2 separate regions of the Homo sapiens genome follow, and region 2 is linked to region 1. The links are contacts of gene promoters, found by promoter capture Hi-C in blood cells and fetal thymus (Javierre and others, 2016). All regions are on one chromosome and are shown on one strand. The core of a region is centred on a gene start or on the middle of the fragment in contact, and the rest is flanking DNA. Distances in the headings are between cores, read along the strand shown. Region 1 holds the start of OMA1 (OMA1 zinc metallopeptidase). Region 2 overlaps FGGY (FGGY carbohydrate kinase domain containing).

Region 1 (5,909 bases), core at 972-3,471:
ATATATTTCTGTGCAGTTCAAATTTCTACGGGATGTATTATTACTTTTTTAAACCTCCACTCAGGCAACTATTTCTGTAATTCCCATTGTTTTTCTTTTCTTTTCGAGACAGGGTCTCACTTTGTCGTTGTCCAGGCTGGAGTGCAGTGGTGCCACCTCGGCTCACTGCAACCTCGCCTCTTGGGTTCAAGCAATTCTCGTGCCTCAGTCTCCTCAGTAGCTGGGATTACAAGCATGCATTACCACATCTGGCTAATTTTTGTATTTTTAGTAGAGACGGGGTTTCGGCAAATTGCCCAGGCTAGTCTCGAACTCCTGGCCTCAAGTGATCTGCTCACCTCGGTCTCCCAAAGTGTTGGGATTATAGGCCTGAGCCACCGCACCTGGCCAGCCCAGCTAATTTTTTAATTTTTTTCTGTAGACACGGTGTGTCACTATGTTGCCCAGGCTGGTTTTTAACTCCTGGGCTCAACTGATCATACTGCACTGCGAAGTGTTGGGATTACAGTCATGAGCCACCACGCCTGGACTTTCGTTGGTTTTCCATGGCTTCCACAAACTCCTTCATATGGCGAACCAGGCCCTCCTACTACTTCTCCAGGCACCTTCCCCAACCCTCCTTCACCCATTCCTAAATTCCAAACTCCCTGATTTACTTACACCCCACAGAAAAAGAAAGCTCTCATCTCTATGTCTATGCACATCTATTCACACTGCTTAGCTCTGCACATGACAAGCAAACTCCTTCTCATTTCTCATGACTTGTGTAAAAATTTTAAAAGAATCCTATTGACACAGAAGGTATAAGCAAAAGCCCCAACACTACGCATATATAATTAAAACCATTATCATTTCTATCACTGACAACCAAGTGTCGTTTTGAATAGAAACAGTGCCTGATATTTTGTAATACCCGGTTTATCCTGAAGAAAGGGTAAAGAATGAGGGAAGAAATCTATTCATGCATTTTCAAGGAGCCAATCACTAGACTACAGAGCACATAAGAAAAAAAAAAATCAGGGCTGACATATTCTCTTCAAAGAGCTGTGGCAGGTCAACAAACATAGCTGGCAGACTTCTAGGATAACAAAATTAATGATGTGAGAAAATTAAACAATTTGGATTGTTAGCCTCTACGAACATTTCAGATCCTTAATTCTTTAAGTACCATCTCCGAATGAGCAAGTGCAGCACTCACTGGCACTCACAGCTGAAGCCTGGAAGACAGTTTTAACAACTCTTGCTGAAAATGACTATTTCTTCTCTAGTTTCTATGGAAACAGCTGTCAGATTGGCAAAAATAGGACATGTACTTTAAAATAATCATTCAAGCAAAGTACACACATGATGGAAGGCTTTAAAAAAGAATTGGACGGCAGCAGACTTGGTTCTTAAGCTTCCAAATGTCAGACTACACCCCTTCACCCCGGCTGAGAATGACGGAGATGAACCTAAATCCTTTTAGCGAGGGTTGCACGACCTTGATCAACGCCTGAATGCCAAATAAGGGATTTTCATCTCCCTGGACTACAATTTCTTGTTGAGGATTGCACGGCACAATAAAACTGTTGCTCCACACACAGGCGACATTTAAACAGTATACAGTGAGTTCTGTAGACGAGTTTACGAGGAAATTGTTAAAACTCCCCGGAACTGCTTAGACGGGGAATGTTCTGGTTTGCCCTGCCGAGTTTAGGCTGGAAAACGTGTTCAGTTTCTCCTGAAGAGGGAAGGGGTGAAAGAGACGAATGCCCGACGCGCCGGGAGGCGGTCCCCTCTGGCAGAGGTGCCGGGTGAGGAGCCCGAAGCCCCGCGGGTGAGAAACCCTGCTCTGAAAGCGGAGCCGCGGATAAGGGCGGGCTGAGGGGGAGGGCAGGCGGCCCACGAAAGTACTGCCACGGGGCAGACACACGGGGTCACCGGCGTGCCCCGGGCAAGGCTAGGGGAGAACCGGGCTCCCCCAGGACAGATCCCCTCCGTCTCCCGCCCCGGCGCCCCCCGCCCCTCCCCTCCACGCAGCCTTATCGCCCACCCACGCCTCCTCCCGTACCCCCATCCCCAAGGATCCCCACTCCTTGCCCGGGCGCCCCCGCAGGCGCTCTGCGCTCCGCCCCCTCCCCACTGCCGCACTCTGCCTCCTCCCCTGGGCACGATCCTACTCGGAAAAGCTGGGGAAAAGCGTCACCGTGAGGACTGACTCAAGCAGAAGCGAAAGCGGTGACACCGCAGACCCGACCTATGCGCAGGCGCGCACCCGCACTTCCTGCCCGCCATACCGGCCGGGGCGCCCTTCGCTCCGCCCACACCCGGCAGTCAATACAGCCGCCCAGAGTCGTTCTCCCAGCTGCCCCGGGCCCCGCGGAGACTGTGGCGCTCTAGCGCCTCCGTGTGGCTTAAGGCGGGACATGGCCCTGGGCTGGGCTGCTTGCCTAGGAACAACTTTCTCCCGTCTTTGGTGAGTTGGGTCCTCTAAAGAATGATCCACGCAAGGCTGTGTCCGTTGTAGTCTCTACGGCAGTACCGGCCAAAAGGGAAGAGACTCGAAGACTGCCAAAAGACGAAGGCTTCCTGGTTCTGAATCTGCATTCATAGAAATAGTCTTTGGAGTATGGGAACAGTGCTTTCATATGATTTTTGGAGGGACGCATTTTAAGAAAGATGAAGTATAATCTTAAGTGTCTGGAGGTTAAAGTAGCTGGCTCCAAAATTATGTGTATAGTATGTTTCATTCATTTCACCAAAACATATTTCTTGAGCATCAACTACATTTTAAGTGCCAAGGATGTAGCAGTGAACAAGACAGACCTGAATTTCGTGAACTTTATATCACAGTGAGGAAAGACAGGCGATTAAAAAAAAGTGTACAAATAAACACAAATAAATAAAAGTGTACAAATAAGCCAGTACAAATAAACACTGGATTGTGATGGATGAGTAGTGAGGTCTCATATTAGTTTATTATGTTTACACTCTGTGCACAATGAAAACATCTCAAAGGACATAAACACTATGTCAAAGGACATAAACACTATGAACAATTTTAGGTATCTCTTTTGGAAAATGTGTAAGTTACTGTTTCGTTTATCTTATGTGTATTTTATGATTTGCCTTTTACTTTGAAAGGGATATCCTGGAAAACCCCTGACAACTGGACCCCTAAAAACTGAAGTAGGAGGTCCTTCAGTCTTCGTAGGGTTTATCTCCCAAACTCTGGAGTGCACATGTCTTACCAAAGTTTCCAGCATGCTAGCCACCTCTTGCTCATCTTGCCTGGTTAGCATAATGTCATTGGTGAAATAGATGGGTGTGATGTTCTCTGGAATTTCCAGTTGATCCAGCTCCTTTTGGACTGCGCAGAGCCATTATGTCATTATCCTGGGTCCACCTGATTTCCAAAGGGGCCAGACTGGCAAGTTAAGTAGAGATATGGCAGGGATGACCAACCACTCTTGTATATTTCAGGTCTTTAATTATGACATTAATCTCCACCATCATCTCACTATCCCCTCAGATGAAATATCGGTTTTGATTTATTATCTTCACTTGGAAAGAAGGACAGCTTCAGAGGCTTCCCATTGGCTTTCCCCACCATGATAACTCAAGACCAAGGACCCTGAGCTTCTTACCAATGTGGAGATTGCTCCAGCTGCCCAATATGTACTCCCAATTATGCACTCAGGAACTAAGAAAATGACTACTGGATGGGTCAGTGTATTCCTGGACCCACTGTAAGCTGGACATTATCCAGGACTCTGCTTATTACCTGATCCCCATAAGCCCCCACACTTAGAGAGGAGCCATGTGTGTTACATACTTTGGGTAACACCTGTGAAATGTCTGGGTATTCCTCTTTCCTCAACATAAAATCAGTCAAGAAAATGGCCGTGGGACACAGACCAAAGAGTAATCATTAATTACAGTAAATATTTGTTTCAGTATTGCAGGATTCTTCTTTATAGGGACCCAACAACCTCTTAAGTCAACAGATTCTGTGGTCTCAGTGTGAAGATAGGCTCAGGTCTGAGACTTGAGCAATGAGCAGTGCCTTTTATTAAGCAACTACTCCCTGCATAGGATAAATAGCTTCTTGTCTTCCTCCAGTTGTAGATGTTAGGCAACACTCTTGTTGGCTGCCCGTCTGTTTTTCCCCTAGGGAGACCTTATGCTATTAAAGCCCTCCACAACCTCCTGTGGATCAAGCCCCCTTGGCTGCTCCTCTGCCCTTGGCAGATGTTACAGTAATTACATCTTCTGGTGTCCTCATGGTTAAAGCCACCACCTGGCTTCTACTACTTCAGGATCCTGTTATCCCAATGGATATTATCAAGCCCAGCCCTGTGATTGCCTCTCCTACCGTCAGCCCTTCCCTCCAGAGGAGAGCCTTCTCTGAACTTCTTAGTGATGCTAGTGCCCCTCACGCCAGTGCATTCCCCATGGCCATAGAATATGATGCATCCTCTGGGCCTCCCATGGAACATTCCCCTCTGTCTGCCTTCGGGCTCTACACACAAAAAAAATTCTTTCAGGCAAGTCCACTTCCCTCAGCTCCTCTGTCCTTCTACCATTTGCAAGGGCAATTCGGGCATTCCTGCTTTACTCTGCATGCACTATGGCTTTCTCTCAGCTTCTAATAGTCACCTAGCAGTGAGTTTACCCATCTTCTACAGTCCCAAGTCCCAAGAAAGTGCCCCCAAGACAATGAATTTTTATTTAGCCAGGCTTGTTCTGGAATAGGAATTAAAAGAAATTAAAGAATGTGTAAACAGAAACTCAGTTCTATGTAAGAAAACCCACCTCCCCCCGAGAAAGAGAAAGAGCTGGAGTCCTTTAAATATTAACTGCCTGTTTTTCTGTGGCTAGTGAGCCTTATCTCTCCCTTTCCCAGGCATTGTAAAGACCCTGTTTCTTTAGCTGTGCGCTGCAAGGTCACTAGACAGATAAACTCAAGCCATTAAGACACGTTTTTCCTTGAAAAGTAAGAAATGATGTAATGCATGCCTCAATTAATTAAATAACTGTCTTTGTTTCTTGCTTCTGTAACATGCTTCTCCCTGCACAGATCTCCCCCAACCCCATAAAATGCTTAAAAGGTAACTTGACTCTTTGTTCGGGGCTCAGTCCTTTGGATGTTAATCCGACTGGGCCGGTGCACCTAAATAATAAATCCTCCTCAACCTCTTGGTATCTCTGATTCCTTATCAATCCCGCCACAGTTCCTGCCCACTTTGATCAAGCACCTTCAGAAATCCCATTCCAGGGGTCCTCTCCTGGCTCCTGCTGGTACACGCTAGGTAGTTCCTTTAGCTCCTACATTATGCAGTCTTCCTCCCCACACCTTTACAGGCCCAACACACAGGCAGCTGGGTGATGCTGGAATTTAACCTGAGTTATCACCCTGGCAGATATCTAAGAGGAGATGGGGCAGGTCCTGAGTGGGCACCTATTTATTCCTTACGCTAGAGGCTTCAACACTGCCTTCCCACTTAAGGGAAGTGTTAGCTTTGACTAGGGAAGGGTCAGCCACCTCTGCAAGCTCTGAGGATCTGCAGTCAGTATCCTCAGGGATTCTATCAGGATGTCCCATTTCATGCTTCAAGATTCCAGATTTTCCCAACCAGGGCCCAGACCTGCCTTGGCTAAGCGTTTAAACATCTCTGGGGCTCTACAACTCTTTTCATGAAAATCTCTTTTGCTCCTCTGCTGTCCACACTCCTCCACTGCAGGTGATAAGAGCCTGTCTGTTACCTACCAAGGAGACCTCTGACTCCCACTCAGCCTTAACTGTTTACAAATGACCCTCACTTTCTCATTATCCCATGCAGGGCATCAACACAATGTAGCAATAACCAGCCCACTGCACTGTTCTTTCAGACACTGCTCCCTCCATCTTTCAAGTGCATTAACTATCT
Region 2 (5,909 bases), core at 1,238-3,737, 1.0 Mb after region 1:
TCAATATTTTTCACCTTTATTCATATTTAAGACACGGAGCCTTTGTCCGTGATTAAATGTGCTATTGTTACCTAGAAAATGTCTTGTGCTTTACTAGTATGTGACTTCTGCCACACACATTCATTTATTCATTCATTCATTCATCAACAATAACAACAAAAAATAGTGAGCTACTGCAGTGTGAAGACTTGCCCTGGCCTCCGTTTGCTTATAGTGTAGTAGAGGGATTTGTTTGTGTTGTCTGTGCAGACACATAAACTAAAGTTACAGTGACAGAATCTGTAGAGAGTCAGAAGATGGGCTACAAAGGAAGGAGGCTTGGTCGGTTCTGCTGGTCTGGGGTGTTTTGGGGATGTGGGGAGATGTGATCAGGAAAGGCTTCTGATGCTGCAACTGAGTCTTCAAAATGGAGTTGGTGTTCCCCAGGATTGTTATGGGATGAGGTGTATTGGTGGAAAGGATATCCTAGGCAGAGGGAGCAAAGTAAACAAATGCTTAGTGGCAAGGACCACCAAATCACATTCAGGAATAAGGAGAAAAGGTCCCAACCATATGGAACCCTGCTCATGCCAGGCAATTCTGCAGGTCGTGGATGGCGTATCTCCCATTTATTGAGTACTGGTGTGTTCCACCTAAATCTCATTTAATTCTCACAGCAACTTTGTGGGTGAGTATTGCTATCCAAATTCTTCAGATATGGAAATTGAAGTTCTAAGGGGTCAAGGCATCTTTGCCCAAGGGGATGAAAGAGGGATTCAAGTCTAACTCTGAAGAAGTAGATAAACAACAAAAACAGCAATAACAATAATAAAAGTAATAAAAACAGCAAAGGTTCATATAGTACTAGGCATGTTTTAACCTGTACCGTTCAATATAATATCCACTAGCTATATGTTGCTACTTAAATGTGAATTAATTAGGATAGAATAAAAAATTCAGTCCTCAGTTGTACTAGCCACATTTTCAGGGCTCAATTGCCACATGTGTCTGGTATCTATTGTATCAGACAGTGCAAATATAGAACATTTCCATCATCACAGAATGCTCTTATTAGCACTGTTATGGGTACTTTACACCTATATTAACATATATAATTTTTATAATCTGTGAGGAGGATACTATTCATATTGTAGAGATGTGGAAATTGAGGCATAAGGAAGATAAGAAACATAAAGAAGATAAGAAATCACATGATGAATGAGTCCTTATTTTTAAGCACTGTGCCATAATACTAACTCAATATATTGTGTTCTGTTTAACATAAATGAATGTTAGTCAAAATAATGGACTTCAGTGTCTGCGTGTATGTAGTCTGGTGTTAAGTCTTCTGCAGAGAACACGTCTTTGATATGATTCTTATCCTTCCAGAAGCATACAGTTGTCAATTTGCATGTATAAAGCTGGTGGTCACTAGAGAGTCTTCTCTGGAGCCCTTCCTCTCCAGGAACTCCAGAAACCTCCCAGCCAGCTTTGGCAAGAAACTCACTGGATGGGATTCATCAGTCAGTTCATTCATCCAAATGACTGAATCAAGAGTCTCAAACAGATGTAGTCTTAAATAATGTTCAAAACCCTTCTTATCCTTTTTGATACTTCAGAGAAGGTGCCTGAGGTTATTAAAAGAGAATCTTTTTCAAGATGCCAACACATCAGACTCAAAGACTGAAAATCCTAGTTGAGTCCAACTTCTACCTCTAAGTTACTAAATAAACTCGACTAAATTACTTCACCTTTCTGAAATTCAATTTCTTCAACTGTGAACTGGAAATAAAATACACATATCACAGGATTTTCTAAGGACTAATTGAAGGTTACAGTGTTTGAGGATACTTTGCAAGCTATAAAGTACTTTATATGGCTATAAAGTGGGAGATAATTATAACACAAATGCGAGAACTCAGGATGTTTTTCTTCTATATAACCTTGTAAGCTTTCAAAACTGCCACAGCGTGATAAATTATAGGAAAATGTACTCTTAATCATAACATTTGCAAAGTCTCTTTTTTATTTTACATAAATATAGTAGGGACTCAATGCTTGGGTGGAAGTATTGTTGGTTGGATGAATGGGAGAGATGAAGGGAGACAGCATATTAAATAAGAGAGCTGTTCATGAAGTTTTAAATGTTCCTTTTTTAACATTCTTTTTAAACATTGCTTGATATGAACTATGTGTGTTACATGGAGGGTTGGGAGACATTTAATTCATTGAGTTAGCCTGTTTTTCTGCTATTTGTTTTTTAGTTCAACAAACATTTATTGAGCAACTGCCATCAGTTGGGCATTGTGCAAGTTTCAGGGAAAACACAGTTGATGATGTCACTGTTTTTTTATGCCTGTTTCTTCATCTGCTAATTTTTCTCCTTAAACATTTTGAGGATTGCAGAATAAACTGACACTGGTATGGTCATATGAAGGGCCCCAGCGGTACCGAGGGCTGCACTTGTGTCAAATTGTTTCCTGATGTACACATGCAGCCTGTGAGTTCTCTGTGGATGGCAAAATATGTTTCTCCGGAAAGAAGAAAGCTCCTCCCACCTTTTCTTGCTTTTCCCTGCTTATCTCTGAACCTCTTTTCTCGGGGATAGCCCATCAAAGCACTGTGTGGCCAAAGGAAAAATAAGATGTCAGCTCTCCGACTCATGTGGTCTTGCAGTGAACATCAGCTATGCATGGCTGCTGAATTGGGGTGGACATTAGGCAGAGTGTAGAGAACCTCTTGAGGGGAAATGAGGCCAGTCCTGCCCAATATATATAATTTTAGGTAAGGAGATACCTCAGCTTGTATTTTAGGAGAAGCACTGTGTATATACTGAGAATGGCTGAGGAAGGACCTCCATTTGTAATTCATTTCTCTCATTGTGGGGATGAGAGAACCAGTTCAAACTTTTAGGCCATTTGTGGCAGAATTGGGGCTGAAACTCTTGTTTTTCTAACTCTTAGCCCATGGCTCTCACTGAGTTTCATGGTGAACTAGCACTTCCAAGTATGTTTTCATTATGTAAGACAATTATAACATCATAAAGTGAGGAGTATAGAAAGAACATAAGCTTTGGAGTCAGACAGAACAAGGTCAAATCCTGGCACTGCTTCTTAAATCCATGTGGCCTTGGGCAAGTTACCTGAACACTCTGCTCTGTTCTTCTACTTCTGCATCTATTAAGAGGAAGAAAGAATGTTTACCTTTTATGGATGTTGCAAAGATTAAATGAGAGAACATTCAAGGAGCTCAGCACAGTACCCAGCCTATCTTTGATGTTGATATGTTTACTAGAAAGGAAGAATCCAGTTGTCTCTTGAGAGGGGGTTCAGATGATGATGATGGTGATGATGGTGGTGGTGGAGAGAGTGATGGTAGTGATGATGGTGACAGAGCTACCATTAAACATCTCTTTTTAAGCATTTCTGCAATATCACAACAACCATGTGATGTTGTGATTTTCCTCATTTTATAGCAGATCCTTCTGTCTCCAAATTCCATCCTTTTCTCATAATAGCACACTAGTTCTCAGGTTCTAAGTCTAGATATAGCAGCAGTGAATCTGCCAACCCAAGAAGAAACAAATAAATATTTCCTACACATTTCTTTTTCCTTCATTTTAATTCCCTTTTCGTATTGACTGACCCTGTAACATTAACTTTGCCTGTACTTTATGTTTATGCAACCAGTAAATGTGGGTGATTCTCAGGAATTCCTTGAACCTATTTATGATACTGTGGAGCAGCGTGGCCAACTCCTTTTCTGTCAAGGATCTCAGAATCAATATATTTAAGATCCCAAGATTTTGAGATGTACAGATAAGTGAACATTGGTTGCCTGGCTATTGGATTTTTATCTTAGAGAAAAACCTGTGAGTCTTGGTGGGGAAGAACCAGCACTTTGGAATCAGATTACCTGAATGTGAATCACAGCCCAGTTCCTTGTGAGCTGCATGACCCTGGTGAAGTTACTACTCATTTCTAAGCTTCGATTTTCTTATCCATAAAATGAGGATAATACTAATACCAATGACATTAGTTTGTTGTAAGAATAAAATGAGACATGTATAGAAAGAGCATGTAAAAAGAGCTCAGTTAAAATGAGCTCATATCTTGGGTTATTCCTGTACAAAAGCCTTTGTGCCCTGAATGGAGAATCGTGTCACTCAGGATTCACTCAGCAAAACACAAACCACTCTAATTGTTTAAAAAACCAGTAACTTAATACCCAAAAATGGCGATCCTGATGATGGAGGAGCTGAGAAGGGCTACATTCCCTGTGAAGCAAATCAGAGATCAGTGAAATGGAAGCAGCTACCATCCCCAGGCTGGAGGGACTAAGGAGGGAGGAGGGAGGTGGTGTTCTCATAGTCTGAGGGCAGGGGACACCAGCCGATGCTGGAGCCATGGCAGCCCTGTCAACAGAGCCCGAGTGGTGGAGGGGAAGCAGCTGCTGCCTGGCACAGAAGAGAAGTAGATAGGCTCTTGCTTCCCCTTGCCTGCAGGGGTAGCCCCACAATACTGAGCAGAGCAGCGGACTTGATCTGAAAACACATAGGCCAAGGATTCTTGCAGGCTAAAGTCTCAGACTTCTATTGCCTGGTTGTGGATATGTAACTACTGTGATAACTAACACAGAAAGTTTGGAAGAGTCTTACTTCCCCCTGTTGCTAGACCTCTGAACAATAGCAGAGATTCACAGGTTGCTGTGCCCCAGAAGGTAGAATTTGGAAAAAGCAGTGGAAAACCCTCGAAAGCTGTAAGAGGCCTGTCTCTGGCCTTTTTCTCACATTACTTTCTAGCAAGTATCTGAGCAGCCAGTGCCTTCAGTATCTGGGGATTTGTGGTCTGATGAGACATTCCCACCCTGCCGTTTACCTGGCTAACTTCTGCAGAATTGAGTATAGACTGAACTTCCTTGGGCCCCTATAGGTGGGTTAGCTGCCTTTGTGGCCCCTCCTGTGATACACTGATTTCCCTGCACTGAAATACTCCATTTAGGCTTCCATCTCCTTCCCACCAGACTGTGAGCAGGGACTTGTCTTCTTCATCCTTGCATCCCCAAGCATTTGTACTCTTACTTCCTGTATTGAGCTAGCTACTGTGGTAGGTCCTGGGCTATGCATGTAAGTAAGAGTGCCAGCTACTAGCAACTTTTATTATAGAAGGGAGGCAGATGGGATATATGATGTTTTAAAATTACCCATGTCTTTTGTGCTAGGGAAGTCCATTGCATGAGACTATTTAACAGGGAGAATCGTCTGTCCTAGAGGGTCAGGGAAGCCCTATAATTAGGAGTCGGCCTGACAGCGAGGTTGGGGGAATGGCATTCCAGGCAGAGGGAAGAGCAAATGTGAAGGTCTTGAGGTGGGAAACAGCATTAAGGATTAGAGATTGAGAGCAAACGTGGCATTGCCTGGGAGCTGATGAGGTCAGCAGGACCTGTTCTCTCCTGTGTCCAAGTCTCTGCGTCCTGCCTGAGCACTTTCCACCCCCAGCTTTGTGTTGTAGTCCTGCAAGTCTGCGTGTTTGTGGCTTCCACATCACACCTAGTATATATCGTTTTGTGCATAGAAGGGGCTTATTGGATATTTGAACAAATGAATACAATTCCAGGCCCTAAAGAGTCTTTCTAGCTTTCTTGTCATATTTATAACTTTAGTTGCCCTGCAAGTATCAAGGAATACGAGCTCTATGGGGAAGAAGCCTGAATTTATACCATTTATGGGAAACCCTCTGCTATTTGGCATTCTGTTACTAGGAACTCGCTCTCAGTCATTCTCTCCTTCACAATTGGAGTTCTGCGATAAGTAGTAGTAAGAATGGTGACCTAGGGATGCCAGAAAGATTCAGTCATCAGACCATCCTTTGCTTTTGCTTCTTTGGGACTGAGATGTGATGTGTTAAACCAGATTCCATTTGGCTCCGCTC

Evidence for each region. Contacts are between HindIII fragments. The CHiCAGO score rates a contact against its expected background, and 5 or more counts as called.
Region 2: a contact is called between a fragment that was not itself captured here and the fragment with the promoter of OMA1 in region 1, in 1 of 17 cell types (monocytes). The highest score is 5.1, in monocytes.

What each region holds. Positions count from the first base shown.
Region 1 is chr1:58,544,505-58,550,413 of GRCh38, forward strand. It overlaps OMA1 (OMA1 zinc metallopeptidase), which reads right to left and starts at 2,222. Exons shown (of 9, transcript NM_145243.5): 1 at 2,199-2,222. It also overlaps a transcript of DAB1 not described here. RefSeq lists enhancers at 1,631-2,257, 2,471-2,660 and silencers at 1,871-1,960, 1,971-2,070. The HindIII fragment of the contact is 5,811 bases long and covers 1,395-5,909 here.
Region 2 is chr1:59,547,775-59,553,683 of GRCh38, forward strand. The region is part of intron 7 of FGGY (FGGY carbohydrate kinase domain containing); the gene reads left to right. Among named protein-coding and RNA genes, the nearest start is that of MIR4711, 180 kb to the right of the region's middle. The HindIII fragment of the contact is 1,119 bases long and covers 1,929-3,047 here.